Linked DNA regions of Homo sapiens: region 1 is linked to region 2. The links are contacts of gene promoters, found by promoter capture Hi-C in blood cells and fetal thymus (Javierre and others, 2016). All regions are on one chromosome and are shown on one strand. Each heading gives the region's core, a stretch centred on a gene start or on the middle of the fragment in contact. The rest is flanking DNA. Distances are from core to core; before and after follow the strand shown. Region 1 has its middle 130 kb from the start of MOXD1. Region 2 holds the start of SLC18B1 (solute carrier family 18 member B1).

Evidence for each region. Contacts are between HindIII fragments. The CHiCAGO score rates a contact against its expected background, and 5 or more counts as called.
Region 1: a fragment that was not itself captured here is called in contact with the fragment with the promoter of SLC18B1 in region 2 in 1 of 17 cell types (total B cells); the score reaches 6.6 in total B cells.

The regions. Positions count from the first base shown.
Region 1 is chr6:132,267,561-132,273,729 of GRCh38, forward strand. It overlaps the pseudogene EEF1A1P36. Among named protein-coding and RNA genes, the nearest start is that of MOXD1, 130 kb to the right of the region's middle. The HindIII fragment of the contact is 1,287 bases long and covers 2,637-3,923 here.
Region 2 is chr6:132,797,367-132,803,919 of GRCh38, forward strand. SLC18B1 (solute carrier family 18 member B1) reads right to left here and starts at 1,271. Exons shown (of 14, transcript NM_052831.3): 1 at 1,048-1,271. The coding sequence starts at 1,090. RefSeq lists an enhancer at 1-57 and a silencer at 1,289-1,338. The HindIII fragment of the contact is 1,643 bases long and covers 1-1,506 here.

The sequences.
Region 1 (6,169 bases), core at 2,030-4,529, 530 kb before region 2:
ACTTGGACCTGGGAGGCGAAGGTTACGGTGAGCTGAGATTGCACCACTGCACTCCAGCCTGGGCGACAGAGCAAGACTGTCTCAAAAAAAAAAAAGCCAGAGTGTTGTTATAGTGTCATTTACTATAAAAATTAAAATTAAAGGATATGGGGGCTTAAATGAAGAATTTTTAAAAAATAATATCTCTCCAGGCTCATCATTAAAACATATGGTTGTAGAGATGTTGTTTCCCAACAGATATATAAAAATGTTATTCTCTCTTTAATATCCAAATAGTATGTTCCAAAGGCCATTGCATTGGGTTTAGATGGATCACTAGCCATTTTCAGTTGGCAGTTTTCACTTCCTCTTTGAAACCTCAATGCTTTACATTTATAAACTAAAAAGAAACCAGACGTTTTTAAAAACCATGAAGGAAGCTAATCTATACTTTGTAGTAGAATGTTATGATTTCTATTTTATGACTACAAAACTAAATTTAGTTATCCAGCCAATAATGTGTAATATCTTAAGCCAATTGAATCATACTGAGTTCTCAGAAAAATAAATGAAACAAAATGGATTGTTTTAAAGGGAGTAAATCTTACCCCGTAAAAGACAGCTGCTTTTCAAATAACATCAATTGGATTTTTAATATAACCTATTAGGATTTTGTTTTCTTCCTTTTTTGGAGACTTTCTTAGTCAAATATAACAACCAGAATCTACAGCTTGGCTCACTTCTCTGTGAGCATTCTTATGTTCAATTCCCACTATTTTTAGCTTTATGCAGTTGTTCCAAGAACATACCTTTTCTCAGAAAGCAATATTTTCTCTACCTTCAAAGAGAAAATTTAGAAAACGTCAGAAAACACAGAGTCCCTAAAGTGGGATTTGGCCTGCTTTTTAGAACTTAAAAACAATTGGGTATTTTTAGTCCAGTCATTCTAAACCACAAAGGCAACAGCAGAATTTGTTGCTATAACTATATAACTTGACCAGTTGCAAACCGTCAAACATAGACCCCAATCCCATTTAAATGTTTATGTCCCTACTTAATTAACTTACTTTGTTTTGTAATTAGTTCCACATTTTCAGTCTCTTGCAGTTGAGACTGGGCTTGATCGCCTAAAAAATAGTAGCTCAGGCTGGGCGTTGTGGCTCACACCTGTAATCCGGGCACTTTGGGAAGCCGAGGTGGGCAGATCACTTGAGGTCAGGAATTCGAGACCAGCCTGGCCAACAAGGTGAAACCCTGTCTCTACCAAAAATATAAAAATTAGTCAAGCATGGTGGTATGCACCTGTAATCCCAGGTGCTCTGGAGGCTGAGGCTTGAGAATTGCTTGAACTTGGGAGGCAGAGGTTGCAGTGAGCTGAGACTGCACCACTGCACTCCTGCACTCCAGCTGGGGTGACGGAGTGAGACTCTGTTTCAAAAAAAAAAAGAAAGAAAAAAGAAAGAAGAAACAAAGAAAGAAAAAAGAAAATGGTAGCTCAAAACACTCAATTACTATTTTAAAAGCTTTTTCATTAAAAAATTAAGGTGCTCAGCAGCATTTATAACTAACTGGTATCTAATAGTAAGAGAAATTGGCATGAGATAATCTGGCCAATTAACAGTATGCAGTCACTGCATTTATGTTTTATTGTAGGGATGTGACGAGTTATAAATAAGTAAGAACAAGCAATGCTAGTATAAAGTACCTAGAAATACCTGACCTCTTTGAGGTCAGGAGTCAAGTGTTATTCACAGGGATGAAAATTATTACAAATGAAAGCTGACCATGGTGACTTCTACTGCCTAGGGATGGAATAGGTATTTGAATAATTAGTAGTGGAATAAAAAATCTTTATTCCATTCCCTTCCAGTCATAGAAGCTGTTGGAGAAAAGGAAAGGCTGAAATTACAAAGCCTCTGCTATAGGATAAGACCCAGAGCAGGTGATTCTTTTTTGAGAAAGAACAAATTAACAGGTCTTTTGGAGATGAAACGTAGGCTCAGAAGTGAGTGGATGGTGGAAAGGTAACTTGCAAGACACCATTAGGTCATGGGTTAGATAAATGGAGGAGATGGGTAAGCTAGGAAAGGCCTCGATAAAGGCGCAGGGACTGATTAACGTGACCGGACTTACCAGGGCAATGAAGAGACCCAAGAACAAGGATGGGCAATAATCAATTTTGAAATGTTTGCATTCTGTAGCTGTAAAAACCCACTGGGTTGCACCTAAACTTTGGTAAAAGTCTGAAATAAACACAGTGCCACCAGATGGTCTGGTGAACTCTTAATGATTCTCAAGCATTAGCTCAAATGTCTTCCCCTCTTTGTGACTTCATCTGATCCGCTCATCTCTCAGGAAGTCCATCAGAGAAAAGCCATCTCTTTTGGCTCAGTGCTCTCATAGTAAGTACTTCACACATAACTTGCAGAACTTACTTACCTGCATTATAGTATTGCTTTGAGAATCTGTCTCACCTGTTAAGACTATAAGCTATTTTTAGTTAGGAGCTTTTCTATGCATTTTTGTAACCCTCGAATCCTAGTACTCTGCCTGGCTGGCCCCTAATAAGCATTTAATAAATGTTGGTTGAAATCAGTCAAGGAAGCCTTCTAAGAATAAGTGAACTTTTTATAAAGAAAGAAAAGCTAAAAAGAAAAAGCTTCCATAACTTATTAATCAGATAGATATAGCAATAGATAGCTATAGATAGATAGCAGAAATAATTTCATTAAATTAGTAATTAGTGGGGACTTTTAATGTTTTGTAGGTTGTTAATCTGGACACATGGTACCTTGTACGTGAGTCTCTTGGTGGATCGTGTTGCTATTATTTGTTTTCAAAACTTCACTAGATTTGTAAACATCCTGATGCAAAACTATTTGGTATTCCTACATACATACCCAGTAGCTGCATAGGACGTGACATGCATAGTAAGGATGTAGAAAATATTTAGGGAAGGATACAGGAAAGGGAAGGAAGAAAAAGGAAAAGTTTTAGAAGAGTGAAAAAATTTAAAGGGTAAAATTTTGAGACTACGGTATAAAAATATTACAGAGGTGTTTTTTTTTTCCCCATCAGTTTGGGGGTGTCTGGGCCAAAATAAGGCACTCAGACATGCAAGAGTTTCCATCTTGACAGTGATGGATCCAAAAGGGAACCTGATCCTTTGTCTCCTCCTTGTTCCTCAGGTGCCACATATGCATCTGACTAATGTCAAAACAGAAGGCTGGACTCCTTATATAAAAATGTGCTGGCAAGCACTCCTGTGACCTTTAAAATCAATCATTGCAAATGGGTATTCAAGCAAGAGGAAATGATCTACAGCTGGGCGGTTTCTCGTCTACATCAGCTGGCAAAGAGGCAGACATACAATTACAAGCAGCATGATTTTTGTTTTCAGACTCCCTGCCCAAACCTTCCAGTATTTTCCATAGCTTTACTGCAAAAAATAACACTAGCCTCAAGTTTAACAGGATGTGAAAACTCCTTCCATGTCTTGAGACAATTTCCCTCCTATGCTGTTGCTCAGCTGGTTGGTCTCTTCTTACTCAGCCCAGTGTGATTTGCGTAAATTGCTTTAACAGCCAGATATTAAGAGCAAACATTGGCCTTTCTTATTCCTGTGTTCCTGAGTTTTCTCTTTATCCAAGTGCACCTGGCAATTCACCCAAATCACGAGGTATTGCCTAGGTTGTATTTATAAGCTCAGTGTGGGTAAACACAGCTGATCACTGGCCACTAGTTTTCCTTCCTTGCTGGGTCCTTTCCTTTCCCTTTTCAAGGCTGGCTTCCAACTTCCTACCTTTTGTGGCTCCTTCTGGAAGACCATGTGGAGTGGGATGTCAGGCAGCAAATGCAGGACCTCTCCAGATCTTGAAAAACAAACAGAAAAGATGGTTTCTAGAATAATATTGCTCCTTATTTCTCCAAGCTCCTGCTTGTGAAGCTTATCCTTTTTTGTTTCTGAATAGTTGATAGAAATGGACAGTTTCTGTTTTTCCTCTAATGAGGACACACACATGCATGCACAGTCTCACACACACACACCTTCCTGCAGAAAACATATTTTGTTTCTTTGTTTCTTCTTGGAATAGAAAAGAGGAGGTGGGAAGAGGAAGTTGTTTTGTTTTATAGCACATGTTGTTTTAAGGTTAAAAAAAACCCTGATGTATTGGCTTTCAAAAATGTATATTTTTTCATACCAAAAGTATTAGATTGCACATTTAATTGGTGAATCATATGATATATGAATTATATCTCAATAAAGCTATTTTAAAAATCATACTATATCAGAATATTAGATGTAAGTCATTTTTTTCTAAAAGATAAATTTCAAGTACAAGTAAAATAGGTCAGAAAAGACGCTGCTTTCCAAAGCAATGTTAAGCTTTTCCTTGGCTACAGGAACACAGATGTTGTGAAATCCACCCCTAAAAGCCAAAATGGGAAAGGAAAAGACTCACATCAATATTGTCATCATTGGGCTGGTAGATTTGGGCAAGTCCACCCCTACTGATCTAAACATGTGGTGGGACTGACAAGAGACCCTCTGCAAAATGTGATAAGAAGTCTGCTGAGATGGGAAAGGGCTCCTTCAAGTATGCCTGGGCCTTGTATAAGCAGAAAGCTGAGTGTGAACGTGGTGTCACAATTGATACTTCTCTGTGGAAATTTGAGACCAGCAAGTGCTATGTGACCATCACAAGACTTTATCAAAAACATTATTACAGGCACATCCCAGGTAGAATGCGCTGCCTTGATTGTCGCTGTTGACATTGGTGAATTTGAAGTTGGTATCTCTGAGAATGGGCAGACCCCTGAGCACACCCTTCTGGCTTGCATGCCAGATGTGTAACAAGTAATTGTTGTTGTTTACAAAATGGATTTCACTGAGCCACCCTATAGCAGAAGAGACATGAAGAAATTGCTAAGGAAGTCAGCACTTACATTAAGAAAATGGGCCACAGCCCTTACACTGAGGCATTTGTGCCAATTTCTGGTTGGGATGGTAGCAACATGCTGGAGCCATGTGATCACAGGCCTTGGTTTAAGGGATAGAAAGTTTAGGGTAAAGATGGCAATGCCTATGGAACCATGCTGCTTGAAGCTCTGGACTCCTTCCTACCACCAACTCATCCAATTGACAAGCCCTTGCGTCTGCCCCTCCAGGATGTCTACAAAATTTGGGATATTGGCACTATCCCTGTGGGCCAAGTGGACACTGGTGTTCTCAAACCAGTAGCGTAAACACTCTGCTCCAGTCAACATCACAACTGAAGTAATGTCCGTTAAAATGCACCATGAAGCTTTGAGTGGGCTCCTCCTGGAGACAATGTGGGCTTTAATGTCAAGAATGTGTCTGGCAAAGCTGTTCGTCGTGGCAACATCACTGATGAAAGCAAAACCACCCACCTGTGGAAGCAGCAGGCTTCACTGCTCCGGTGATTATCCTGCATCCTCCAGGGTGAATCACGCTGGCTGTGTATGCCCCTGTACTGGATTGTCACACGGCGCACATTGCTTGCAAGTTTGCTGAGCTGAAGGAAAAGGTTGACTGATGTTCTTGTAAGAAACTGGAAGATGGTTCTTAAATTCTCGAAATTGGGTGAAAACTATCGTTGATATGGTTCCTATCAAGCCTAGGTGTGTTGAGAGCTTCTCTGACTATGCTCCTCCAGGTCATTTTGCTGTTCATGATATGAGATAGACAGCTGCTGAAGTGTCATTAGAGCAGTGGCTGCTGGAGCTGGCAAAGTCACTGAGTCTGCCTGGGAAGTTCAGAAGGCTAAATGAACAGTATCTCTAATACTTTTCACCCTAGTCTTTTTTTTTTTTTTTTGAGATGGCGTCTTGCTCTGTCACCGAGGCTGGAGTGCAGTGGCACCATCACGGCTCACTGCAGCCTCAACCTCCTGGGCTCAGGCGATCCTCCCATCTCAGCCTCCCAAACAGCTGGGACCACAAACCTGTGCCATCACACCAAGCTAATTTTTTTTTTTTTTTGGTAGAGATGAGGTCTTGCTGTGTTGCCCAGGATGGTCTCAAACTCCTGAGCTCAAGTGATCCTCTCACGTCAGCACCCTAGTCTTAATCAATGGTGGAAGAACCATCTCAGAACTGTTTGTTTCAATTAGCCACTTAAGTTTAACAGTAAAAGACTGGTTAATAAACAATGCATCATAAAACCTCA
Region 2 (6,553 bases), core at 21-2,520:
AGGCAGGCGGATCACGAGGTCAGGAGATCGAGACCATCCTGGCTAACACGGTGAAACCCCGTCTCTACTAAAAATACAAAAAATTAGCCGGGCGTGGTGGCGGGCCCCTGTATCCCAGCTACTCGGGAGGCTGAGGCAGGAGAATGGCGTGAACCCGGGAGGCGGAGCTTGCAGTGAGCCAAGATCGCACCACTGCACTCCAGCCTGGGCTACAGAGAGAGACTCCGTCTCAAAAAAGCAAAACAAAACAAACAAACAAAAACAAAAACAAAAACAAAAAACAAAGATTTCTAAGGCAGTATTGAAGTCAAATGAAGTGTAAGTAGGAGAAAACAAGCTAAATCATTCAGCTGGTGAATTAATATTTACAGCGGTATGCTTCTGGATAGACAAGTCCCACAAATTCATAAATAAATACTTTTTTTTTACCCTAATTACTGGTCTTTTACATCAGTTAATTTAACACTTATTTCCAGGGCTAAATTGTCATTTAAAAACACGAAATCAATTACTGAGTTCCAAATATCCAAGCAAATCCATCAGCCATTTATAAATTAAATTGTTTTTAGGAAAAACTTAAGAGAAATACATTTGCTTTGCTCTATTTGTCAGAGGTTGCCATTGCAGTCCAGAAGGAAAAAAAAAATCAGTGCAACATGAGGAAGTCTTACGAATCTTTGTAAAATGTTTGTAGTAGATGAGAAAGGGAAATGAAAGTTAAAAAGAAAGGCAACAACAATGGGTACTTGAAAGGTAACGTTTTACATTTGCCTAATGGCATACTTATTTGAATGCATTAAACACACAGTACTTAAAAAGCAGAGGTATAGGTTAGAAAGTCATTAGAAACCGTGACACATATCCAATCCTGGAACTTTACCCCGTCCAGAGAGAAAAGAAACGCTGGCCCGAACCCCACGATCAGGCCCCAGCCTTTTCCAATCTCTCGGAAACAGATCAAGCTATAAGCAATTCAATCGTTGCTAAAGAGACACGCCGGAAGCCGCCGCTGGTCTCCGGGCTCCCGGCCACGCAATTCATGGTCACCTCCTGGTGCGCGTGGTCCCTCCAGGTCACCCAGCGCCTCCATCCCCGGTGCGTGGACTCCGGCGCCCCAGCTCCCGGCTTCAAGCCACGTCCTTGGACTCGACCTCCAAGGAGCCACTGGCACTCTGGCGGGCGGCCGCTGCTCAGCTGGAACCTGGCATCCCCGACTCCCTGCAGGCAGCGATCCGCCCGGCCCGGAGCTCCCCAAAGCCTTCCAGGACTCTGGGTCCCCGGGAGGAGGCCGGGGGCGGGGCAGGGGTGGAGCAAGGCTCCTTTTTTTTTTGTTTTGCGCCCCCCCCCCGCCTCATTATCTTAATCCACCACCTCAGCTGCTATATCATGGTGTCCTTTTTCATTCTGTGACAGAGAGTGAAAAAAGATGAGTCTATATTCCATACAGCTGTACCCCCCTCAATCTTAAAATAAGTTCAATTTATTCCTACGAAACGAAAGAAAGGAAGCTTATGTAGACACAGAAAAGGCAGGGAGTACCTCAACTGAAAGACACAAAAGTGAATTAGAAAATTAGGTTATACAGGAACTTTGAAAGAGTGAATTATTTTTCACAGTGGGTAAATGCGGTAGTGTTCGTAATTACTGAAGCCAGACACTATTGAACCGGAAATGAATTAACCTATGTGAAGCACCTGGAGTCGAAAAATATTTGCAAGAATACTAATGAATATCGAGGAAGCATGGCGAAGTGGCTAGGAGTGCGACCTCTGGAGGCAGGTGCCAGGGATTCAAGCCAGGGCACTTGCTGGCAGTGTGTAACTTTGGATGACAAGGTCAGTTTCTCTACCTGTACAACTGAGATTATAATGTTTATCTCGTAGGGCGGCTGTGAGCATTGGCGATAAAGTGTGTTAGTAGTTAGCACATGAACATGATGGCTGCTACCTTACTCTCACACTCACAGTTTTCTTGCATAAAAAATAGGTTTCACTTATTTTCACCGTATTTACTATTTGGGAAGTGTTAAAGCTCGAGGACTGGCTGGACACGGTGGCTCATGCCTGTAATCCCAGCAGTTTGGGAGGCCGAGGTGGGCAGCTCACCTGAGGTCAGGAGTTCTAGACCAGCCCGGCCAACATGGTGAAACCCTGTCTCTACTATAAAAATACAAAAAAATCAGCCAGGCGTGGTGGCAGGCACCTGTAATCCCAGCTACTAGGGAGGCTGAGGCAGGAGAATCGTTTGAACCTGGGAGGCGGAGGTTACAGTGAGCCAAGATCCAAAAGAATTGTGTGAGGGTAGCTTTATCGACTGAGAATCTGCCTCAGATCCACTGTACAAGGTCAGTTCCAGTACACAGTATGGCTGATAGTAAGTTTGTAATTACTGTGCCACCTCATTCCAGCCTGGGTGAAAAAGCGAAACTCTGTCTCAAATAAATAAATAAAGTTTAAGGACTGGGAAATTCTTGTTTTGAAGCCAAAGCAAAACAAAAGACTGAGTTACCACTTTGTGCCAGGCATTATGAATTTAAAGAGGAATGAGCCCCATCCAGACTCTGCCCTCAAGTAGCACACCTTCTAGCAGATGAAATTCACACTAATTAATAATCTACTATAATGCAATCGGTTGTATACAAACATATTGGAAGAACCATTTACTTTGGCAAATGGGTCCTGGATGACTTCCTGAGGAAGTGATGTTACCTTGGTTCTTGAAGGTTATGTAAAAACTCCCCAGTGAGGGCCGGGCGCGGTGGCTCACGCCTGTAATCCCAGCACTTTGGGAGGCCGAGGTGGGCGGGTCACGAGGTCAGAAGTTCGAGACCTGCCTGACCAACACGGTGAAACCCCGTCTCTACAAAAATACAAAAATTAGCTGGGCATGATGGCACCCAGCTACTCAGGAGACTGAGGCAGGAGAATCGCTTGAACCTGGGACTCGGAGGTTGCAGTGAGCAGAGATCATGCCATTGCACTCCAGCCTGGGCAACCGAGCGAGACTCCATCTCAAAAAAAAAAAAAAAAAAATTCCCCAGTGGGCAAGTTGTAAAGGAGAACCTAGAGAACCACTCTGAACAGAAAGTTCCACTCTAAGCCAGGTGCTGTGGCTCACGCCTGTAATCCTAGCACTTTGGGAGGCCGAGGCAGGCAAATCACCTGAGGTCGAGAGTTTGAGACCAGGCTGACCAACATGGAGAAACCCTGTCTCTACTAAAAATACAAAATTAGCTGGGCATGGTGGCGCATGCCTGTAGTCCCAGCTACTCGGGAAGCTGAGGCAGGAGAATCGCTTGAACCTAGGAGGCAGAGGTTGTGGTGAGCCAAGACAGCACCATTGTGCTCCAGCCTGGGCAACAAGAGTGAAACTCCATCTCAAAAAAAAAAAAAAAAAAAAAAAAAGAAAAGAAAAGAAAGTTCCAATCTAGCAAAGTTTCCCTAAAGTAGCCTTATGAAATCTTTATGATCTAACCCCTGACAGCTTCTCCAATCTCATTTAACTCTATGCTTTCTCTTCAATCTAACATCAATCTGTAGAGGGAAATTTTCTTGAATGATTTCTTTGATGATTACATTTCCTCTTTTATTTTCTTTCTGGACTGCACTTTATGTGAATGTTGGGTCACCCAAACTGGTCCTTTTACTTATTTCTCTTTTTCTTCTCTCTTTTATTTTATTTTATTTTTTTTAGACAGGGTCTCACTCTGTTTCCCAAGCTACCATGACATATAATGGCTCACTGCAACCTCAAATTCCTGAGCTCAACTGATCCTCCCACCTCAGCCTCCCGAGTAGGTGGGACTATAGGCCTGTGCCACCACACCTGGCTAGTTATTATTTTTTCTTTTTTTTTCCTCCATGTTATAGGAAGTATCCCTAACTGTATCTTGCCATCTGAATTTTTGCCAACTGAATCTTGCCAACTGTATCTTGCCAATTGAATGTTTCATTTCTGTTGCCATCTATTTCCTTGTATCTCCATTCTCATTCCTCTCCCCATTTGCAATAATTCTTGCATGTTTAATGCAAATCTTGTTCTTTATGTTCTCAAAAAAATCTATGTTCTTATGTGTCCATCTACTTTTAATTTACATAAAGTCTATTCATATCCCTATCCTCCGCTCCTCTTGTAATCTCTACCTCTCATTCTCCCTTCAGATAATCAGTTTTATAATCAAATATATTATTGTGTTAGTTTTCTGGGGCTGCTGTACAAATCAACACAAATTTGATAGCTTAAAACAAGGTCCTCAAAGCCAGAAGTTCAACATCAGTTTCACTGAGCCAAAATCAAGGTGTCAGCAGGATCATGTTCCCTCTAGAAGCTCTAGGGAAGAGTCTGTTTCTTGCCCCTTGAAGCTTCTAGTGACTATTGGCATTTTGTGCCACATCACTGTAGTCTCTGTTTCTGTGATCACTGTGCCTCTTCTTTTCTGTGTGTAATCTTCGTTTGCCAGTCTCTTGTAAGGATATTTTGAATGAATTTAGGGCCCACCTGGATAATCCAGGATGACCTCTTCATCTCAAGTTCTCCAATTTAGTCACATCTGCACAGACCCTTTTTTTCATATAAGGTAACATTTACAGGTTCCAGGGATTAGGATGTGGACGTATCTTTGGAATCCATTATCAGCCTACCACAATTATCTATTCATAGTTTGATATGCTCATTTAGACATTCATACACATATGGAATATTTGTTTCTTTACAAACTAAAATGGAGTAATATGGTCTTTGTTTAAATGCCACCTCCTCAGAGAAATTCATTCTTTTTTATTATTTATTTATTTAATAATAGAGATGAGGTTTCACCATGTTGCCCAGGCTGGTGTCAATCTCCTGGACTCAAGCAATCCATCTGCCCTGGTTCCCCAAAGTGCTGGGATTACTGCCGTAAGCCACCATACCTGGCCAAGAAATTCATTCATTTTTTTTTTTTTTTTTTTTTTTGAGATGGAGTTTCACTCTTGTTGCCCAGGCTGGAGCACAATAGTGCTATCTTGGCTCACCACAACCTCCACCTCCTAGGTTCAAGCGATTCTCTTGCCTCAGCTTCCTGAGTAGCTGGGACTACAGGCATGCGCCACCATGCCCAGTTAATTTTGTATTTTTAGTAGAGACAGGGTTTCTCCATGTTGGTCAGCCTGGTCTCAAACTCTCAACCTCAGGTGATCCTCCCGCCTCGGCCTCCCAAAGTGCTGGGATTACAGGCGTGATCCACCGCGCCCGGCTAAGAAGTTCATTCTTATGCCCTTATCCAAATACAGCCCTAGTCCTCCTTTGTCCTTTCACCTTTCTATTTTTCTTCCTGGCATTTCTATCAGTCAGAGTTCCCTGTTGCTAATAAAAAACAAAGCAACGTTGGCTAATTTAAGCAGAAAATGAATTCATCATTGATTATTAGGTAACACATAGTATCATCAGGAGGATCATGCATACCACTTAGAGGCTAAGTGCCTAAAGTCACACCACCTAAGCGGTCCAGTATGCATGGCACTGCAACCCTGCTGGACGTACATCTCCAGCACATGCTGCCAATACCACTGGAGCCAGGTATGAGACACTGTAATTAGAACATCATCCCCACTCCTCAAGAATGCTGCCACTCTCACCAGAAGAGATTTTAGGTGGTGCTAGCTTCTTCCACTCACTTGCTTCCATTGCATATCAAGACCCAATGTGTTTGAAGTCAGGCAGTAAAAAGTGTCCAAGTACGTTCTTCTTTTTCAAGAGTGGTTTGAATATTTTAGTTACTTTGACTTTCTAGAGAAATATCACAATTAGCTCTCATATTCTCCAAACAACCTGGTGGAATTCTTACTGGTATTTTTTTTACTCCATATATCAATTTGGAGAGAACTGATATTGAATCACTATTAAGCTTTTAATCCATGAACATAGTATATCTCTCCAATTATATAGATATTTCTTTCATAACATTTTCACATTTTTCACCGTGTAGGTATTATATGCCTCATGTTAAATTTATTCCTAAATACCTTAGTTTTAGAAGCTACTAAAATTGATATTTTTATGTTTAAATTTCCAACAATTTGCTGATTATATATAAAGGTAAATGAACTTTTATATTAATCTGGTATCCTGCAATCTTGCTAAATTTCCTCATTAGTTCTAGTCATTGTTGTATAGATTCCTTTAGATTTTCTACATAAACAATTATGCCATCTGCGAATAGAGTTTTACTTCTTCCTTTCTGAAATGTATGCTTTTGTTTCTTTCACTTATTTTATTGCACTGACTAGGACGCCCAGTAAAATGGTGAATAAATGTGGTGAGAATGGAGAGCCTCACTTTGTTCCCAATCTTACAAGAAAAACACTTGGTCTTCCATTATAAAGTATGAGGTTAGCTGTAGGTTTTTCACATGTGCCTTTCAGAAGATTAAGGATGCTACCTTCTATTCCCAATGTGCTGAGAAATTTTAAAATGAATTTGTGTTAAATTTTATCAAATAGTACTTCTGCGTCTATTGTACATGGTTTTTTCTTTATTCTGTTAATTTAATAAATTACACTGATCAGTGGTCTAA